Linked DNA regions of Homo sapiens: regions 2 and 3 are each linked to region 1. Evidence: promoter capture Hi-C in 16 types of primary human blood cells and fetal thymus (Javierre and others, 2016). All regions are on one chromosome and are shown on one strand. The core of a region is centred on a gene start or on the middle of the fragment in contact, and the rest is flanking DNA. Distances in the headings are between cores, read along the strand shown. Region 1 holds the start of MTF1 (metal regulatory transcription factor 1). Region 2 holds the start of MEAF6 (MYST/Esa1 associated factor 6). Region 3 has its middle 3.6 kb from the start of GNL2.

The links. Contacts are between HindIII fragments. The CHiCAGO score rates a contact against its expected background, and 5 or more counts as called.
Region 2: the fragment with the promoter of MEAF6 here is called in contact with the fragment with the promoter of MTF1 in region 1 in 10 of 17 cell types (activated CD4 T cells, fetal thymus, total CD8 T cells and 7 more); the score reaches 10.9 in activated CD4 T cells.
Region 3: a fragment that was not itself captured here is called in contact with the fragment with the promoter of MTF1 in region 1 in 10 of 17 cell types (naive B cells, fetal thymus, naive CD4 T cells and 7 more); the score reaches 8.6 in naive B cells.

The regions. Positions count from the first base shown.
Region 1 is chr1:37,856,749-37,860,893 of GRCh38, reverse strand. MTF1 (metal regulatory transcription factor 1) reads left to right here and starts at 1,302. Exons shown (of 11, transcript NM_005955.3): 1 at 1,302-1,363; 2 at 3,185-3,643. The coding sequence starts at 3,236. INPP5B (inositol polyphosphate-5-phosphatase B) reads left to right here. Exons shown (of 24, transcript NM_005540.3): 24 at 1-197. RefSeq lists a silencer at 1,036-1,365. The HindIII fragment of the contact is 3,574 bases long and covers 1-2,089 here.
Region 2 is chr1:37,512,901-37,517,045 of GRCh38, reverse strand. MEAF6 (MYST/Esa1 associated factor 6) reads left to right here and starts at 2,280. Exons shown (of 7, transcript NM_001270875.3): 1 at 2,280-2,389; 2 at 3,508-3,623. The coding sequence starts at 2,300. RefSeq lists a silencer at 2,096-2,695. The HindIII fragment of the contact is 2,267 bases long and covers 1,145-3,411 here.
Region 3 is chr1:37,597,470-37,601,614 of GRCh38, reverse strand. No RefSeq gene overlaps it. Among named protein-coding and RNA genes, the nearest start is that of GNL2, 3.6 kb to the right of the region's middle. The HindIII fragment of the contact is 1,664 bases long and covers 1,639-3,302 here.

The sequences.
Region 1 (4,145 bases), core at 53-2,552:
ATGACCACATCACTGTACGCCAGCCCGGGTGAGAGAGGGAGACCCCGTCTCTAAAAATAAAATGTAAAATCACTGAAAAAATGAGTGTTCGGTGAAACAAGTGGGATTTTCTGGGCCAGCAAGTCTTCCAAACTGTATATGATGCATCCTGTCTCCATGTGTAATATATTTTAATGATAAATGTATTTTTAACAGTGGCGGTTGTGTATGTTTTTATGTCTTAAGAGATGGCAGTTCGCTGCAGCTGGATTTTGTGGCTCAAGCCTTGGGGCCAAAGAGACATATTCCTGGCAGTCTGGTGGGTACCAGTCACTATTCACATACTTCCAGCAAGAAATGGTTATGGCACTGACCTGAACCCCTTGACCCCTGGTCTGGTCTTTGGAGTTGTCCCACTCTGAATATTCGAGAGAAGCAGCTTATGGTTAAAACAGGCAGTGGCAGCTGGGAGGATCTAACAGCTAGATCCTCCAGGCATTTGGAAAGGACAGGGGCATAACGAAGGCAGAATCGCTTCCTGGGTACGAATGCCCACTACTTCTGGGCACTGTGAAATGGGTTTAAGACGCGGGCCAGCAGGACAATGTGAACGGTGAAAGGAAGGGAGTGGCCGGTAGGTGGCGCTAACTGGCCCGGGCATGAGTCCCGCCGTAGCCGCGTCCTCTTGCAGGGGAAGAAAGTTGGGACCGCCAGCCTGGGCAAGCGCGTGAGAAGGGAGCTGGGGGTCCTAGGCAAGCGCGTGAGAAGGGGAAGAGGCGGCGGCGTCCTCTCCAGCTGGGCTTAGAATACTCTTAGTTCTGCCTTTGGGGTCTTGTCTTCCTTTCTGGGCCTCCTGCCTGTGTTAACTTTGATGGGTGCTGAAGGGAAGGCCGGGGTCCCGGCAGGAGAAACCCGGGAACGTCGCGGCCGTCCAGGCTCCCCTGGCGGGTTGGAGCCAGGGTTCTGACTGCCAACTGTGGTCCTTCCCGCTGCGGCTGTGGCTGCCAGGGCGAGGGCGGTCAGCGCAAACCTGGCTGAGGACATTTCGGATTCTTCCTTGGGGATTCGTTCCCTTCTCCTTGACTCCGGTGCCGCGAGGGCGACACCCTCCGGGCCCCGCGTGGCCACCCCGGGCGCTTCCCCACGCGGATGAACCCACCTCCTGGGCGCCTTCCCCTCGGTGCCCCGCTCGCCAATTGGAGGCTGCAGCTCAGCCCCCTGACAACCTGAGCCAACCAGAGGCGCCAGGGAGGGGCGGATCCTCTGTCCCCACCTTCCTCCGGAAAGAGGAAGCGGAAGTGACGTTAGGGGAAGGTGGGGGCAATCATGGTGCCGCTGGGGAGGGGAGAAGCTGCTGCTGCCGCCGTTGCCGGGAGCCGCGGAGGTAAAAGGCGAAACTAGACTCGGCCTGGGCTTGGGACTTACCGGGAGGCGCGGGACTTAGGCTCCCTCCTGAAGCATTTCCCAATAGAGACCTCAGTTTGGTCACCATAGGGACCCCACCCCTTCTCCGTTTCCATGGGGATGGGTATCCAGCCCCCCTTCCCTGTTTCCATGGAGACCCGGACCCTGCCCCTCTCCTCCTTGCTTGGAGACCCCCAGCTTGTCTTCGGATTTTTCTGTGTAGCCCTGTGCTGGGGGCTATCCCAGACAGGTTCCTTTTCCCAGCCTCCTCTCAAGGGGGCTCTGTTCGCACTCCTCGTTGGCTACCCTCAAACCTCCTGGTCTTGTTTGTTTCGGACAGTTGGTCTCCGCGTTGCCGCCGAGGGTGCCGGGGCAGCCCACTGGGGCCCTCGGTGCTCTTCTCTCTCTGCTCAGATGCAGCGAAATGTACATCTGTGGGGTTGCGTAAGCCAGAGCTAGGGGTCGGGCCGGTACCTCCCGGATCCAATCCTTTGGCCTGTCTCTGGTAACTGTCTAGCCATCCCACTAAGTAAAGGCTCACTTTCTAACCCAGAGCAGAAGAGAAAGATAAAGCGCAAAGCCAGACTGAAAACTAAAAGGGATGTGCTGATTATTTTAAAATTCTCTATTCTGCCTGCCAAACCCACATTTGTAGAGCCTGTGTTTGCAGATGAAGGAAGAATCACTATTCCAGAACATGAAAGCTTCAAATGTGGTATTTTTCTCAAGAGAATGTATCTTCCCAAGATAGTATATCTTCACGAGAGAGTAGGTAGCCATGTCTTTCAGTCATTTAGCTGACATTTCCTGAACTCTTATCATAGTATCAGTGTACTATGCTAGGAGCTGTAGAAACAAAAATAATAAGACTCAATTGATTCAGGGACGAGAGCCCACCACAGAACCATAACTTCTTGTTGACACCATATTGTTTTAGGACATAAATAGATACAGTGATCTTCGTTGTTTGTGCCTGATTGAGGAATAGCCCTTCCACCCAGAAGGTTGAAACATCTGTTCTAGGTAGGGGGGAAGGAATTCATACTTGTTCCTCTACTATTTACCAAACATTGTGCTTTACATATGTTGCCTCTTTTATTTCTTATAAAAACTTTGAGAGAACAGGAATTACTGGTCCCACCTTGCACGTAAGAAAAATGAGGCACAGAAAAGTTACCCATGTAGTAAAAGGCAAAGACAGGATTTGTAGGTAGATGACTCTGCCTCCAAAGCCTTGCTCCTTCTACCATAAACTGCATGAAACCATTTACTGCCTCGTGGTCTGATTTGGAGGATATTTGAATGGATGGAGTTTCCCTTAAGATTTGTAGCAACTCAGCCTTTCAGCAGCTGCTGTTCTGTTTGCTCTTTTGTCCCCTTTAAATATTTTGACCAAGTTTCAAATTGTTTGACAGGCGTATTCAGAAGGTCTTATGAACTTATTCAGTTTTTGAAAAGCATTGCTTTTCTTTCTTTTTCTTTTTTTTTTTTTTTTATTAGAGATGGGGGTCTCACTATGTTGACCAGGCTGATCTCAAACTCCTGGCCTCAAGCGATCCTCCCATCTTAGCCTCCCAAAGTGTTGGGATTACAGGTGTGAGCCACCACGCCCAGTCGGCATTGCTTTTCTTTAAAAATGACTTGATGGTTTTAAAGTTAAAATAAAAAAATTATTCCCAAGGATGGTTTTTCATTTGCTTTGGCTTGCTCTTTAAGTGAGAGGGAAAATGAGCCTTGTGGTTGCTGAGGAGGTCCGTCGGTCTTGTGGTATGACTCTAACTCTGGCTTTGTTCTGTTGCAGACAAGTCATTACGTTTTCATTTCTCACAACTGGGCTGAGCACAACTGAACCATGGGGGAACACAGTCCAGACAACAACATCATCTACTTTGAGGCAGAGGAAGATGAGCTGACCCCCGATGATAAAATGCTCAGGTTTGTGGATAAAAACGGACTGGTGCCTTCCTCATCTGGAACTGTTTATGATAGGACCACTGTTCTTATTGAGCAGGACCCTGGCACTTTGGAGGATGAAGATGACGACGGACAGTGCGGAGAACACTTGCCTTTTCTAGTAGGGGGTGAAGAGGGCTTTCACCTGATAGATCATGAAGCAATGTCCCAGGGTTATGTGCAGCACATTATCTCACCAGATCAGATTCATTTGACAATAAACCCTGGTTCCACACCCATGCCAAGAAATATTGAAGGTGCAACCCTCACTCTGCAGTCGGAATGTCCGGAAACAAAACGTAAAGAAGTAAGTAAAGCAGTCAGTGAGGGCCTAGTTTGGTTTTGGGGCAAGTCCTTACAAAATTCTTGGTGCAAATTTTAGCTGGGGAGTAAAGGAGTGCATGGGGTTAGGACTTAAGTAGTTTTGCTATCAACAACATATGCCTCAGGTTTTGTTGTGATTGCTTCTGGAACTTTTGGTTTGTATAGCCACATTGAAATTTGGGAATATCAAATTGTAATTTCTCGAATTTCCTTCCCCAAATCATAAATAAAACAGAAATTTCACTTAAGTAGACCCATGTTTCTGGTGCTAAAATAACTATTTAGCTTATCTACAGGGAAATAACTGGAGTTTGCTTATTTGATGAAGAAATAACTATATTTGGCTTATCTCCTGGTTGTGTTTAAATGATTTGTTTTAGAGATGAGTATCTGCTGGAATATGTTTTATTATCTTAGTGAATGTTTAATGAACTTTTATTTCACAGTGGCACACGCCTGTAATCCCAGCACTTTGGGAGGCTGAG
Region 2 (4,145 bases), core at 1,031-3,530, 340 kb after region 1:
GCTGGTCTCCAACTCCTGACCTCAGGTGATCCACCTGTCTTGGCCTCCCAAAATGCTGGGATTATAGGCGTGAGCCACCTCGCCCAGCCAGCTTTTTGTTTTGTTTTGTTTTGTTTTTGAGACAGAGTCTCACTCTCTCACCCAGGCTGGAGTGCAGTGGCGATCTCGGCTCACTGTATCCTCTGCCTCCCCGGTTCAAGCGATTCTCCTGCCTCAGCCTCCTGAGTAGACGGGATTATAGGCGCACACCACCACACCTGGCTAATTTTTTGTATTTTTAGTAGAGATGGGGTTTCACCATGTTGGTCAGGCTGGTCTTGAACTCCTGACCTCGTGATCCGCCCGCCTCGGCCTCCCAAAGTGGTGGGATTTAGCCACCGCACCCAGTGGCTTAAAAGTTTTTTTACTTGTTTGTTTTTTGGTTTACACTAGGAATATAGAGGTACTTCCTCACCTTGAAAAACAGCATCTACAAAACTCCCACAACTAATGTCATACTTAATGGTGAGAGACTGAATGCATTCGCCACCCCCCCTTTTTTTTTTTGAGACGGAGTCTCGCTCTTGCCCAGGCTGGAGTGCAGTGGCGGGATCTTGGCTCACTGCAAGCTCCGCCTCCCGGGTTCACGCCATTCTCCTGCCTCAGCCTTCCGAGTAGCTGCGACTACAGGCGCCCACCACCACGCCCGGCTAATTTTTTTTGTATTTTTTAATAAAGACGAGGTTTCACTGTGTTAGCCAGGATGGTCTTGATCTCCCGACCTTGTGATTCACCCGCCTCGGCCTCCCAAAGTGCTGGGATTACAGGCGTGAGCCACCGCGCCCGGCCTGCATTCCCCTTAAAACAGGGAACAAGGCAAGGATGTCTAATGTTATCACTTTTATTTAACAGACTACTGGAAATCTGCACAATAAGGAAGAAAAAGAAAAAGCACTCAGCTTAGAAAAAAAAAAACTCCCTATTTATTTGCAGATGAAATTATTATCTATGTAAAAATTCCAAGGAATCTATACAACCCCCCCTAAAATTAGTAAGGGAGTTCAGCAAGATGGCAGGTTACAAGATCCGCACACGAAACCAGTTATTCAGAATGCAGCACAGAGGGACAAAAAGATGGAAAATATAGACGGTAGGTTAAAAAGCTTCTTATGTTCGAGTTCCAGAAGGAGAGAGAAATGAGACAGGCATCTGAAGAAAAATGACTGCGATTTCCCAAAACTGGTGGAAGATACCAACCCACATATTATAGAAATCCAAAGACTTCCAAGCAAGAAACAAAACAAAAGGAAGAAAAAATATCCCACTTAGACTTATGATAGCGAAACTGCAGAACAGTGAAAGATGGAGAGCTGAGGACGGAGAAATCCACAGGGGCCAAGTGAAAACAACGTTTACACCTTGGACTTAACGATAAAAGCGAACTCGTACTTGCACAGTCATTGGCGCCTGCCAAACCCCTTACACATATTAGGTGATTTACTCCTCACAGCAAATGTATTAGGTAGATTCTATTACTGCTTGTATTTTACAGATGAGGGAGTTGAGATTTGGTTATTTGCCCAAAGGAGCACACTTTATCGATGTAGCGATAGGATTTTGAACAAGGTAGTTCTCGCTCCAGTTTTGTGCCCTTAACCACTACACATACTTGTTTCTCCAAAGGGCACTGGGAAAATGGGAAGCCACTGAAAGACTTTAAACCGGGGAGTGATAACATTTGTTTCTGGAAGATCCTGGCACCACTGTGGATAGTGGATTAAGTGGGGCTAAAGGTGGAAATAAGCCGCTGGAATAATGTAGCCCCAAACAGGGAGGGCCTGAATGAACTAGTGAGGTGGCAGAAGGCGCAGGCACAAGCAAATGGATTCGCGAGCTCTTCCGGAGTCGAGTCCATAGAGCTTGACCTGGGATCGCGTTTTACTCCAGGTGCAGAGTGAGGAAAACCGCGTTTCTGACGCAGGCAATTCGGTGGATAGTGAAAGTCATTCACTGAAGTGGACTGAAGCGGGGCGCACAGGAGACTCGGAGGCCTGAGGACGAGCTAGGCTTTGGACGCGGTGGATTTGTGGCGTCTGTAAAGCCGGCGGCCAGCCGAGGGGCAGGAAACGGCAGAAAGCAGAAGCCGCATCTCTAGAGCTCTCCGAGAAGGACCTTCGAGAGCCCCGGCCTTAGCGAAGCTCGGCACGGCGCTGCACGCGTCTCCGGAAGCCGCGCGCGCAGGCGCAGAGCGGGGGGGCGCCCCCTGGCGGCGCAGGGACCGCCCCCAACCTCGCGCCGCCGCCGCCCGCCTCAGCCCAACATGGCGATGCACAACAAGGCGGCGCCGCCGCAGATCCCGGACACCCGGCGGGAGCTGGCGGAGCTCGTGAAGCGGAAGCAGGAGCTGGCGGTGAGGGGCTAGGACAGGGGTTGCACGGCATGGGGCTCCGCGCCCGCCCCGCCTCCAGGCCCCAAGCCCGGCCGCGCTAGGCCGTTTGTTACTCCGGGGGCGCGGCGCGGCGGGCCGGGTGCTCGGCGGCCTGAGGCCGGGTGCGCATTCTGCGGCCCGCCGGCGGTTCAGCTTCCCGGCTGTGCGAATCCGGAGCCGGGAGAGAGCCGGGAGCGCGGGAGGGGGAGGGGAAGCGGCAGCCGCAGGAGGGGGCGTGGAGGGAGGACGGTGCCGGGGCCCGGGGAGAGGGCGCTAGGAAGGGCGAGCGTCAGTGAGCCGCGGGGGTGGGCGAGGCGGGCTAGTCCGTGATCTTTGCGGGGAGGGGGTGGGGAAGGAGGCTAGTGTGGGAGGGGGACCCAGTCACCCCGTCTGGACTTTGGAGGCTGGTGGGGAGCGTGTTCTTTTTGGTACTGGGAGTAGATCCGTTGAATGGAGGTTTTTGATAGACAGGGTTGTGATGTGTTTGGGAACATCTAGAAGGTGACAGGCGAGGGAGAAGAACACATTCCGGAGAATTCAGAATTGTGACAGGCACCCAAGGCCCAATGCACTCTGGTGGCTAAGCTCTTCCTGCCCCCGCGTCTCGGCTTGGGCACCCGGGAGGCCCCTCTCACCTGAAGCTGCCCTTCTAGGTTTCCATAGCAACTGGCAGCCCGGTGTCGGCGGCCTCTCTTGAGCCTGCGGGGAGGGGAGCGAGTTGACGCTGAAAGGCTGCTCACCTTTCCCTCTCCTGGTAGCGATACCTTTTGTGCGTGGGAGTGGACATCGCCCAAGTTCTGCGTTAGCCTGGGCTCTTGACTCATGGTTTCCGTGAATCCTCTAAAGTATATGCAAAATTTCGCGTGTGTGTGTATTTTTCTGGAGACATGCTTTATACATTCAGGGGTCCATCACCCCCAAAGGTCTAGACTGTCTTAGTCCTAAACGGCTCCTCCTCCCCGTATCTTCCATCTCTCCACAGGGTGGTTTAGTGTGGGCAAGCTTGCGTTTACGAGTCTAATATCAGGATTTCATTTTGGCCAGACTTAAGTGTTTGCATTTAAAAGGTATCATTCATGTCCTTGTTTTTCATCTCTCAGGAAACATTGGCAAATTTGGAGCGACAGATCTATGCTTTTGAGGGAAGCTACCTGGAAGACACTCAGATGTATGGCAATATTATTCGTGGCTGGGATCGGTATCTGACCAACCAAAAGTGAGTGTCGAAAGCCTGTAGTGTTCCTATTGTGCCCTAGTAACGTTTGTTTTTAGGACTGTATGCTCTTAGTGGCAACTTTGCTGGAGGCAGTAGTAAAGTAGTGGTGTGATCTGGACTTGAACTCTTGGACTCTGGCTCAGGCACTGCCTCACCGAATAATCTTAGACAAGGCTCACATCTGTAAAATAGCGAAAGTTGGGCCTATGGCACAGGGTTGTGTGAGGCTTAAATACAGTATCTTTATACAATAGCATTCTATTAAATTTTTTACACATTTTAATCAGTCATGAGTTCTACCCTCACAGTATTTTTCTTTTCTTTTTTTCTTTTTCCTCCTGAGTAGCTGGGATTACAGGTGCGTGCCACCATGCCTGGCTAATTTTTTTATTTTTAGTAGAGACGAGGTTTCTCCATGTTGGCCTGGCTGGTCTCGAACTCCTGACCTCAGGTGATCTGCTGCCTTGGCCTCCCAAAGTGTTGGGATTACAGGTGTGAGCCACCACGCCTGGCCACTTTTCT
Region 3 (4,145 bases), core at 1,221-3,720, 260 kb after region 1:
GCTCCACTGATCTGTTGGTTTTAGATGGGAAGTTAACTTTTCAGATTCTTTAACATGACATTATTCTACTGGAAACAAACCAAGGGACCTGGATAAAGTTTTTAAAAAGTGTTTTCTTAAAGAAAAAGGAGGGAGGTAGGCAGGAGAGAAGGGAGTAAAGAATTACACAAAGATTTGGTCTAACGGCTTCAAAATCAAAAGGATCCCTGGACAGATAGATATTGAGTGTAATAGGAAACACACTGATCCTGGGGAGATGACTTAATATAGGCCCTCCAGCCTCCTCAGAGCTTAAACAATTACCTACAATTTGGAATTATACTTTAAATTCCCACATCAATGTGTGTTCTGGATCCACTTCTCAGGACACGGCCAGCAGTCTTGAGTTATCTAAACCATGCTGAAAATTAGAGGCCATTAATAGCATCTCATAAAAGTGCTTCTCAGATTTTCTTGAGCAGAATATGCCGAAGACCACAAGGGATTTGGTGATAGGAAGGAGCGAAATGCTTCTAGTTATTTTTCCAAAGCTTAATCTGGGGATCTTTTTGAAGAGCTCCTACCCAGCAGTGAGATGCATGCCAAGACTAATACGACTGTTTTTCCCACTTAGAAGTGGTGACCATGAAGAAAAGTTTCTTGGGGTTCCCAGAGGTGAGTCTCCTAGCCATTTTTACAGGTAGCAAGCCCACTAGTTTGCTATATCCTTGTCCAAGAATTTCCCAGACACCCTAGACTGAAAACTGAGGGTAACTTGGCCTATGAAGCTCTAAGTTAATACACTTTTCTTTTCTTTTCCTTTTTTTTTTTTTTTTTTTTTTTTTGTGGCAGGGTCTCACTGTGTCGCCCAGGCTGGAGTGCACTGGTGTAAATCTTGACTCACTGCAACCTCTGCCTCTCAAGCTCAAGCAATTCTTGTGCCTCAGCCTCCCTAGTAGCTGGGTTTACAGGCGTGTGCCACCACGCCCGGTTAATTTTTGTATTTTTAGTAGAGATGGGGTTTCACCATGTTGGCCAGGCCGATCTTGAACTCCTGACCTCAGATGATCTGCCTGCCTTGGCCTCCCAAAGTGCTGAGATTACAGGCATGAGCCACCACGCCCGGCCGAACTTTACTTTTCTGATACTTGAATTTGCTTGTAAAACTGTTGAGGTTGTATAACCAAGGACTCACTTTTTTGTTTTCTATCAGTGAAACAAAACAACAAAATCCTGAAGATGTATATTCTGAGCCTTTCTCTGTTCTTCCAGAGTCCCAGAACCTAGCATTTGGGGACTAGGACTGTTTCACATTGGGCAGCGGCCATTCCAGGGGCCCAACTCTTGGCCTCAGCAGGCACGGGTCAATGCTTCATGGGCTTGCCAGAGGAGAGACACAAGAGGCCCCAAAAGAGCAGCTTCTGCTAGCAGTTCAACTGGGAAGTACAACTCAACAAGCCGGCACTAATTAAGAGCTAATGGCCTTACAAATGAGCATTGCCAAAGGATAACGACCCTCCGGCTGCAGCATAAATATCAAGGCATTTGGGGCAGAGCCAAGATATATATTTTCAGAGTGCATTAGACACTGCAGCAGCCTTCCTCACCCTGGCTCTGCTAAGAAGAACAAGATGATTTAAGATAGGTAGGAAAGAAGCTTGATCTTCCAGGGCTGCCTTCTGGTCAGCAGGTCAGAAAGCCTCCGAGTGACTCTTGGAAAAGACTTCACTTTTGTATATACAAGAATCACTTGAGGAGCTTGCTAAAATGTAGATTCTCTTGGCCCCACCCCCAAGATGGTCTGATTTTGGAAGCTCTGGGATAAAACCCAGAAATCTGCATTTTTGTTTTATTTTATTTTATTTTTGAGACAGGATCTCACTCTGTCACCCAGGCTGGAGTGCAGTGGCACGATCTCACTGCAGGCTCCACTTCCCAGGCTCAAGAGATTCTCCAGCTTCAGCCTCCCAAGTACCTGGGACTACAGGTTTGAGCCACCACGCCTGGCTAATTTTTGTATGTTTTGTAGAAACAAAGTTTTACCATGTCACCCAGGCTGATCTCGAACTCCTGCGCTCAAGCGATCCACCTGCCTCTGCTTCCCAAAGTGCTGGGATTCCAGGCATGAGCCACCATGCCCAGCATTTTAAAACAGATCCCCCAAGTGATTCTGATGCTTGTGGTTCTCAGACCACACTTTAAAAAATGTTGCTTTAGAAGCTGCTGCTATTTGCCCATTAGACCCCAGTGATAAACTTTTTACAGAATGAAGATAAAAGTGAGGTCAGGGCCCGGCACACTGGCTCATGCCTATAATCCCAGCACTTTGGGAGACTGAGGCAAGTGGATCACCTGAGGTCATGAGTTCAAGACCAGCCTGGCCAACATGGCGAAACCCCATCTCTACTGAAAATACAACAATTAGCTGGGTGTCCTGGTGGGTGCCTGCAATCCCAGCTACTCGGGAGGCTGAGGCAGGAGAATTGCTTGAACTGATGAGGCAGAGGTTGCAGTGAGCTGAGATCGTGCCATTGCACTCCAGCCTGGGTGACAGAGCAAGACTCTATCTGAAAAAAAAAAAAAAAAAAAAAAAAGTAAGGTCAGGATTGTCTGCTTCCTGTGAAGACACCAGTCCAGAACATGGCATTTCCAGCCAGTCTCCATCCATTAAGGTCTTCTCATTCACACAAACCTGTGGTTACCAGGAGCAACATTTGAGGGGATGAGTAGCTCACCTTGGATTTTGAGAAAAATAGAAAGCATCCCTGGCCGGTGCAGTGGCTCATGCCTGTAATCCCAGCACTTTGGGAGACCGAGGCGGGAAGATCTCGAGGTCAGGAAATTGAGACCAGCCTGGCCAACATGGCGAAACCCCGTCTCTACTAAAAACACAAAAATTAGCTGGGCATGGTGGTGCGTGCCTGTAATCCCAGCTACTTGGGAGGCTGAGGCATGAGAATAGCTTGAATCTAGGAGGCAGAGTTTGCAGTGAGCTGAGATCATGCCACTGCACTCCAGCCTGGTGAAAGGGCAAGACTCCATCTCAAAAAAAAAAAAAAAAAAAAGAAGAAAAATAGAAAGCATCCCATCTGCATGATGTGTACCATGTCTGCGATGCTTTCATATACTGTAACTCATATGATCTTATTGCAGTCTTTCAGAGTAGTTAAGCTATTGCATCTGTTTTAAAGCTGAGGAACTGTAGACCTGGAGGTGTATCTTGCCTCTGCTAGTTGGCATGACATCAGAAAAGAGAGTGAAAAATAGTCACTGCATTACAATGCGGCAAGCAGGGCAGGCAAATCAAACCAGTAACTTAAGCTTGACTTACCTTGATCAGGCTTTTTATCTGCTGGTAGAATTGAAGTTGGTTGTCGAGATCGGCAAATATTGTTGTAAAAGGATTGATGGGTCAGATTATAAAAATAGATGGAAAGTTTGTAAGATAAATGCAAGCAGAGTATGAGAACAGGAGAGAAACAACCCACCATATCATCTGGGAAAATGAAACTCCTTGGCAAGACTTCACAACAGCCTGATTCAAAATTTCATAATGAAATTATGTCTCTGATCAAAGCCTGAATGAGCTCATAGGCTGATTTTTGCCATCCGTGTTTATTCTGGTTTGCACCAACTTGAGGCATCAGAAACACATTAACTGAATCTTCTCTCTGGGAGGAGGCTATGGTATCCTTGTTTTGGGGATCAGAGGGACAGTGTGGGGTGGAAGGGGGCATCTTCACTGATCATGAAGTTTTTTCCAAATAGCTCTCAGAGCTTCCCTAACACAGGTCACAGTCAGGGCCTTCCCAGCAGAGCTGCATTTAATCTCATGATACTTGCCCTTGGGGCAATAAAAGCGAAGCTTGAGGGACAGAAGGTATTTCCAGCTCTAGCCTATGACATGGCCTGCTTTTGCTCTAAAGAGAATGTTTTGGGGTTTGTTTCAAACTCAGAGAAATAAAGACTCAATCATCCCCTGCTCAATTAGAATACCTCACTTTATAACAAATTGTTTGTTTTTATGAAATGAGCTACACTGCATGAATCCACCCTTCCTCTTGCCTAACCATCTCTTCTTTGGCCTATCCAGAGGGTACAAAGATGGCCATTTTCTGACAATTTGAGGTACCAAAAAAGAGAGAGGGACCAGGCGAGGTGGCTCA